3 separate regions of the Homo sapiens genome follow, and all the other regions are linked to region 1. Evidence: promoter capture Hi-C in 16 types of primary human blood cells and fetal thymus (Javierre and others, 2016). All regions are on one chromosome and are shown on one strand. Each heading gives the region's core, a stretch centred on a gene start or on the middle of the fragment in contact. The rest is flanking DNA. Distances are from core to core; before and after follow the strand shown.

Region 1 (2,700 bases), core at 108-2,607:
ACTTTGGGAGGCCGAGGCAGGTGGATCACCTGAGGTCAGGATTTCGAGACCAGCCTGACCAACATGGAGAGATCCTGTCTCTATTAAAAATACAAAATTAGCTGGGCATGGTGGCACATGCCTGTAATCCCAGCTATTCAGGAGGCTGAGGCAGGAGAATCGCTTGAACCCGGGAGGAGGAGGTTGCGGTGAGCTGAGATCACACCACTGCACTCCAGCCTGGGCAACAAGAGCAAAACTCTGTCTCAATAAATAAATAAATAAATAAATAATAAAATAACATGTTAGGCCGGGTGTGGTAGCTCACGCCTGTAATCCCGGCACTTTGGGAGGCTGAGATAGGCGGATTGTTTGAGGTCAAGAGTTCGAGATCAGCCTGGTCAACATGGCGAAACCCCACCTCTACTAAAAATACAAAAATTAGCCGGGCGTGGTGGCGCACACCTGTAATCCCAGCTACTGGGGAGGCTGAGGCAGGAGAATCGCTTGAACCCGGGAGGCGGAGGTTGCATTCAGCCAAGATCATGCCACTGCACTCCAGCCTGGGCGACAGAGCTAGACTCCATCTCAAAACAAACAAATTAAAAATAAATAAATAAATAACATGTTCATTATAGTAAAGCTGGAAATAACAGAAAAGTGGGAAGGAAACCAAAGATTTTATTTAACTATCAAAGCCAGGCACTTGGGATATTTTAATGGTTTTCCATATGGGATTTTTTTTTTTTTTTTTTTTTTTGCAGGCACAAGGGTTTTTTTGGTTCTCTGTAATATGGTTGGGAATTCAATATTAAGAAGTAGAGAATCCCAGCTACTCAGGAGGCTAAGGTGTGAGGATCACTTGAAGCCAGGAGTTCAAGATCGACCTGGGCTATGTAGAGAGACCCCGTTCCAAAAAAGATGTAAAGCTGGAAGGAAACTTGGGGGTCAGCTGGACTGGCCGCCTTTGTTGACAAGGCAGGAAAGCCTGGCTCAGTACCGCCGAATGATTTGTCCAAGGTGAGCGGTGGCAGAGCTGGAACCAGAAGCTGTTAGATGTTTGCTGCCCCTTAAACTCCAGCACCAAACCTCCCTCTGTCCCCGAAGACCATCTTCACAGGGCATGGTTAGTGCGTAGTGGATCTAGGCTCCAGACTGAGGGTCTGTCTGGGAAGGGCTTCTAGGAATCCCCCAGCTTCCTCGATAAAGGATGTGGCTCTGGTTACCCCCCTCCCCCATTTCCAGATGGAAATTTAGCTAAAGAGTGAGGGCCACAGAGCCCAGCAAGGGGCGTGGTCCGTGCCTGTTCCCAAGGGCGGAGCCAGCCAGCAGGGTCACCCTGTTCCTTTAAGAGAAGGGGGAGCGCTAGCCCCTCTCAGCCATCCTGTCCTGTCCTCCATCCTGGCCAAATCCGAAAGGGAAAATGAAAGAGGGAGCAGGAGGCGCCGGTCCCAGCCACCTCCCAAGGTCCCTGGCTCAGCTCTGACACCCCAGTCCCGGCCCCAGGGTGAGTGGGGTTGGGTGGCGGTTTAGGGGCACCAGGGGCGTGTGGGGACCTGTGTAAGTGTGGGGTGGGGAGGATCTCAGGAGATGTGGAGGCTGGAGGCACAGGAGGCCAGGGAGGAGGGAGAAGCCTGGCGTCGCACTCCCACCACGCTGGGGTAGGAGGGCAGGGACACCTCCGACAAAGGACCCTGTGAGAGTTATGAAAGCGGAGTTGCCTCTGTACCAGCCCCCCACCCTGAGAGGAGTTCACTGCAGTAAAAATGGTGAGAGAAATGGTGGGCCAAGAAAGGAGTGGTCTCGCTGCCTCTGCCACTCCCACTCCTCCCATGGGCACCAAATTGGGTCTAGCGTCTCGGGTTCGAGGCTCCACTCTTCCCACAGCATCCTTGACAGCTAAGGGCACCGCTGGGTTTCCGCTTCCGAAACCAGGCAAGTCAGGGGCTGGTCCAGCTGATCTCCAAGGTCCTTCCTAAGAATCTGGGATCTGGAGGATCCCAGGGTCGAACGGAGACGGCTCAGGGGGTGCGGCTAAAATGCAAATGGGGGATCCTCCCCAGCACCCATCGGTCCCAAAGAGAAGGTAACCCATAGCTGAGCGTCGCCTGCTCCCCTCGGGCCCTCCCGTGGCCCTCCGTTTCATACTGGTCTCATCGCTAAACCCGGGCCTCTCCTACCTCACGACTCACCCTGAAGTCAGAGAAGGTCCAACGGACCCCACCCCGATAGGCTTGGAAGGGGCAGGGGTCCCTGACTTGCCCCATCCCCTGACTCCCCGCCCCGCGTCCCCAGCGCCATGGGGGAGTGGGCGTTCCTGGGCTCGCTGCTGGACGCCGTGCAGCTGCAGTCGCCGCTCGTGGGCCGCCTCTGGCTGGTGGTCATGCTGATCTTCCGCATCCTGGTGCTGGCCACGGTGGGCGGCGCCGTGTTCGAGGACGAGCAAGAGGAGTTCGTGTGCAACACGCTGCAGCCGGGCTGTCGCCAGACCTGCTACGACCGCGCCTTCCCGGTCTCCCACTACCGCTTCTGGCTCTTCCACATCCTGCTGCTCTCGGCGCCCCCGGTGCTGTTCGTCGTCTACTCCATGCACCGGGCAGGCAAGGAGGCGGGCGGCGCTGAGGCGGCGGCGCAGTGCGCCCCCGGACTGCCCGAGGCCCAGTGCGCGCCGTGCGCCCTGCGCGCCCGCCGCGCGCGCCGCTGCTACCTGCTGAGCGTGGC
Region 2 (2,700 bases), core at 190-2,689, 300 kb before region 1:
GAATCAGTTTGGCCTAGATAATCATTAATGACTCTCTTTAGTCAGAGCTTTCTGTCTCAGCCTACTCCAAAGGTCTCTGACCAATCTATAGATAATCAAGTTGTGACTGATGGGGAAGGTGCAGGAGGTAGGGAGGGGTGGGTCAGAAATAACCTGGAACCTCTCCTCTCACCAGGAGCTGTGGGTAGGACAGCTTTGTTTGGAGAGGGCTGTGAGAATGCCCAGCATAGACTGGCCTGGCCAGATGTGAGTTAATTCAGAAATTAAAAGAGCAGGACATGCATGCAAAGGCCCTGTAAGGGCTAGAACCCAGGTCTGATTATCTCCTGAACTGTGCTCCAGATACAATTCAGCCAAAGCCACTCCACAAATAACAATAATGATAGATCCACTCTCACGACATATTTCTGTCACATCTAGCAACCAGCTGGCAAGATTAAACCAGGAATTTAGAAGGGGAGAGAGAGAACGCAGAGGCAGATATGCAGGGGTAATACATGGAACACAAGCAAGTTGTCAAAGAGCCAGTCCCAGTGATGTCATACATCACTGAGCAACCTTGGGCAAGATGCCTCAACCTCTCTGGCCTCAGTCTTTTCATCTTTACAGGTTAGAAAATGTCAGGGATTGCAAGGATTGGATGGAATGATACGCCAAATACACCCTCCGAAGGGCTCAAGTGATTGCAACGATTGGATGGAATGGTACACTGACTACACCCTCCAAAGGACTCAAGGGTTCTTTTGGTGAATACACCAAAAGGTCTATTTCTTCATCCTTGTTAAAACTTTGGAAATGTTAACTCACAACTCTCATAGTCTACCAGCACTTATCTGCAACATTTTGAGAAAACTAAATATAATTTTCTTTTTTTTTTTTTTTTTTTTTTTTGGAGATGGAGTCTCACTCTGTCACCCAGGCTGGAGTGCAGTGGCTCAATCTCGGCTCACTGCAACCTCCACCTCCTGGGTTCAAGCAATTCTCCTGCCTCAGCCTCCCGAGTAGCTGGGATTACAGGCACCCACCACCACGCCCAGCTAATTTTTGTATTTTTAGTAAAGACAGGGTTTCATCATGTTGGCCAGGCTGATCTCGAACTCCCGACCTCAGGTGATCCACCCACCTCAACCTCCTAAAGTGCTGGGATTACAGGCATGAGCCACCATGCCCGGCAATTTTCTTATGTTATGCCCCATTTCCTTTTCACAAAAATGAACTCCCCCTCCCCTCAAAGTGCTCAATTTTTACAGGGAACCAGTACAGGTTTTTGAAATTTTCCTTTCCTTCATGAAGAATCTGACATTTCTACTATACCAATAACAATAGGAGCAAAGAGTTTACCCTGTATTTGCATAATTAGTTAGAAAGATGAGAATTTCCGTGGCCTCCGAAAAAGGAGCTCTGCATCTTTAAAACTCTGCGAGGCTCCCTGCCTTCCGCGCAGACCGAGCAGACTGCCGCAGCGACTCATCCTATCGATAAGGTTCAGTTAGCCAAGGTGGAGGATGGGAAAAGAATGGAACTGTCCCAGCTACTCAATGAGATCAGGGCAAACTATGAAAAGATCCTCACCAGAAATCAGATAGAGACGGTGCTCTCAACAAGGATCCAGGTAATGATTTCATACAGACAGGCACCTTCCAGAATAAGGAGACAGTCCATGTCTACCCAATTCCTGTCCCGGCCTCTCTGAGGTACAGTATTTCCTTTTCGATGCAGCATCTATTGGGGAAGGAATTTAGCTTCTACTGCAGTGTGACTGGGACTACAGGGGGAAATACTGTGATTATATTGTTAAATTGCCATTAAGTAAGTGTTGATTGATGCATTTGATTTTTATATAAATTGTGAGGTTCCTATCATTAACATGGGGTCAACATACCATAAAATGGTGCACTCTAACCTCTTACAATCTTCAGGAAGGAACCATTCCAAATACCCTTCAAAGATATTATTGGAGTTATTTACAGAGATAATTTAAATAACATCTTTAAAATGAAAAATCTTTAAGTAAGATTTATTAGCATGTACACTTTCTAGAGATATTTCTAAAAGGTTTCTATCATCTTTTTAACGAGTTCCATTTTATACCAGATTGTTATAAATAGAAATCATCTGAGTGTGTGAACATGGCATTCAGAAACAATGATATAAATTATGACCATTGAAATTCCCCAAATTGGTAACGATTCTCCACTAAGATTTTTGCTTCTGTACTATAAGATGAGAAACATTTCTTTCCATTACAAAGCTTGTAATATTTAAGTATTTAAAAAAGAGAAAGAGAGCCTACTTAGATAAGGACTAAATCCTAATTTCATAGACTTAGTTTTAAAGTAACAATCACCTTCAGCAAGTAATTAAGGTCTCAAGTCTTTAAACAAATTTACAAACAAATATTTTAGAAACAAAGATTAAGAAATTTAGGGGATTTTTTAGTTTACCTATCATATATGGGTTCAAGTTATCTTCCAAACCCTGAAATACAGCAAAAAGTTTACTTAAGAATATCACCCAAAATTTTAAAAAAAAAAATTGGTAGAAAAATGTCAGGCCTTTATTCCATTAGCCACTCATTTTTAGTTCCATTGTAAATTTCACCTCTAGATAACATTTTCAGCCTTCATAAAGAATGATCAACATCTTAGATTAAGCAAAGTCACTGGTACAGGTAAGCATTGGGATAGTTCATTCACCTTT
Region 3 (2,700 bases), core at 49-2,548, 440 kb before region 1:
CGCCTCAATTGTTTTCTCAAGAACACCAGAAATTTCTTTGCCACTATTTCCTTCTTCTGGACCTGTCTTCAAATCCCAAAACCCACATCAATCTGATCATCATCCTTTCTATTCCTGCACCAGGATTACTTCCAAATATGCAGTTGAACATCATTATAAATGAGAGCTGGACCCTCCAATTTTCTTTTACTCATTGCTAGTCAAGTATTTTTCCAGTTCAGTATACATATTCTAAACAGTCATTCTTGCTATCAGTCACCTTCATCTGGAACATTCTGGCAACCCCTCAAATCCAGTTGGTCCAAACCTAAACTCAGTGTCTTCCTCCTCCTCTATTCCCCATCTCAGTGAATATTATGAGTTCCCAGAATCTAAAATTAATTACCTAAGAGTTATCCCCAATTCTGCCTTATTCCCTACTCTCCAAATTCAATCATATTACCATATGCTCTCAAAGCCATCTTCTCTGCATCCCCACTGCCTTCATCCTTCTCACCTGGACCATTATTCCAACCTTGTAATTGACCACCTTGTTTCATTTCAACCTGATCATTTTGCCCTCTGCTTTTTACTTAGGATTCATTACAAACTCTTTAGACCAGCACAGAAAGCTAACCATGATCCAGCCCCTGTCTGGACCTGACAATAGATTTCTTAAAGATTGTAATCACGCATTTTTCACTTCTGCATTTAGTTAACACTATGTCTTTCATTTTAGCACTTAGCATAGAGCACCAAACATCATAACCATGCTATTTTAAACAAAATAATAGGTCAATATTTGTGTCATTGTCCAAGATAATAAATAGATGTTATAATCATGGTAAGAACAGAGATGTCACTAGCCTCTGTTTTCTAAATAACACATTTTTTTCTGGTGGGATAAAATATCTGTTTCTGTAATTAGCAGTCCTTTATACCCCTCCATGGTAATTGAGACCCTACTGTACCTCACAGAACTCTATCATAATCTTACTTAACTTTATAAAAAATTTGATAATACCTGGCGCCAGATAATGACAGTATATGCCTAGGGTCTAGATGAAAGGAAAGGATTACTCACTCAAAATTAGAAGTTAAATTAATAAACTTAATATAGAACAAACCCTATTATATTTAAGATAAGAAATAGCCCAAAGCAACACCGAGGGATGTTAGACATTAATTATTTTTAAAATCACCCAATTATACATAATTTTATGCTAATCTAAGTGATGCCATTTTGCTTTTGGCATGTATAACTCAAATAGGAACGCCCCAATAATGATATATAAAAACCCAAAGAAATTATCAGTGCATGATATTCTGTTCTCTTGGGACATTACAGTTTTGCATAGACAAGGTGAACATTTCTCAAAACACCATGTCTCTCCAATTTTCTAATGGATCCAGGCATGTTTGCTTAAGGTCTGGAGCTGGATCTGTCAGACCCCTCAATGGAGGTGCAGGCTTTGCAGGCAGCAGTGCATGTGGTGGCTCTGTTGCTGGAAGTGAATTTTCCTGTGCCTTGGGAGGGGGCTTGGGCAGTGTTCCTGGTGGGAGCCATGCTGGTGGTGCCCTTGGAAATGCTGCTTGTATTGGCTTTGCTGGAAGCGAAGGGGGACTCCTCTCTGGAAATGAGAAGGTGACCATGCAAAATCTTAATGACCGCTTGGCATCCTACCTGGATAATGTGCGAGCTCTGGAGGAGGCAAATGCTGAATTAGAGAGAAAAATCAAGGGTTGGTATGAAAAATACGGACCTGGATCTTGCCGTGGACTTGATCATGACTATAGCAGATATCACCTAACAATTGAGGATCTTAAGAATAAGGTGAGAAATCACAGATTTGGAACTAACCCAAGTATTTAAAACTAAGAAATACCTAACAAAAGACATACAATAAGAAATGCTTCATGACTGTTATAACTTGTATTTATTTATTTAGATAAACAATTCTTCCTACTATTCAAAAATGGGCCCTTTGATTCATGAATTTTAATGTAGTTAAAATGTTATTAGTTCCATTGTTTATGTTGAAGTACATTCATAGGCATATGAATAAAAAAGTATTGTAGTTCTAAATTTAGGGGAATATATGAGAATAAATAAAACCATGTCTTTAATTTTTAAAAGTTAAACTTGAAACATTTTGATTATTACATAAGGAGGTGAAATTTTTATGCAAAAACTTGAGTAACCTTTTTCATTTCCTGAAATAATGAATCACATAAAAGCATACTTACTTGTTGTGTTCTCTGTTTTGGTTTATTCTAGATTATCTCCTCCACTACTACTAATGCTAATGTCATTCTGCAGATTGATAATGCCAGACTGGCTGCTGATGATTTCAGGCTAAAGTAAGTGACAGAAGAAAATCCTGCTCTAGAAAAAAGTTTCTATTTATTTAATTTGTTAAATAAAATTTCTATTTCATCCCAAGTAGAATGAACTATCACCTAAAAGATAAAAGGAAGCAAAGGATTTGTATTATAATGTTACAATCAACTTATACATAGTTATTATATTCCTGGGACAAAATATCAATATATTTCTCTGCCTGCCTAGAATACTGCCAAGCACAAAGTAGATGCTCAGTAAATCATTAGTCAACTAAGGAAAAACGTTAACTAAAATAAAATTCCAAAATGGTGTATTTTTATTTAACTAGGTTATGCTATTGGAATTTGTGTGATGAAATAACTTCCAATTATCCTGTA

The links. The method cuts DNA at HindIII sites, captures the fragments that hold promoters and counts their contacts. A CHiCAGO score of 5 or more calls a contact.
Region 2: a contact is called between the fragment with the promoter of KRT222 here and the fragment with the promoter of GJD3 in region 1, in 4 of 17 cell types (naive B cells, total CD8 T cells, activated CD4 T cells and 1 more). The highest score is 7.0, in naive B cells.
Region 3: the fragment with the promoter of KRT28 here is called in contact with the fragment with the promoter of GJD3 in region 1 in 5 of 17 cell types (naive B cells, total B cells, naive CD8 T cells and 2 more); the score reaches 13.7 in naive B cells.

Annotation. Positions count from the first base shown.
Region 1 is chr17:40,363,394-40,366,093 of GRCh38, reverse strand. It overlaps GJD3 (gap junction protein delta 3), which reads left to right and starts at 1,357. Exons shown (of 1, transcript NM_152219.4): 1 at 1,357-2,700. The coding sequence starts at 2,279. It overlaps GJD3-AS1 (GJD3 antisense RNA 1), which reads right to left. Exons shown (of 1, transcript NR_186704.1): 1 at 659-2,700. The HindIII fragment of the contact is 7,280 bases long and covers 1-2,700 here.
Region 2 is chr17:40,663,916-40,666,615 of GRCh38, reverse strand. KRT222 (keratin 222) reads left to right here and starts at 1,439. Exons shown (of 6, transcript NM_152349.3): 1 at 1,439-1,612. The coding sequence starts at 1,517. The HindIII fragment of the contact is 3,418 bases long and covers 1-2,253 here.
Region 3 is chr17:40,798,557-40,801,256 of GRCh38, reverse strand. KRT28 (keratin 28) reads left to right here and starts at 1,298. Exons shown (of 8, transcript NM_181535.3): 1 at 1,298-1,813; 2 at 2,258-2,340. The coding sequence starts at 1,364. RefSeq lists an enhancer at 2,120-2,700. The HindIII fragment of the contact is 3,919 bases long and covers 1-2,700 here.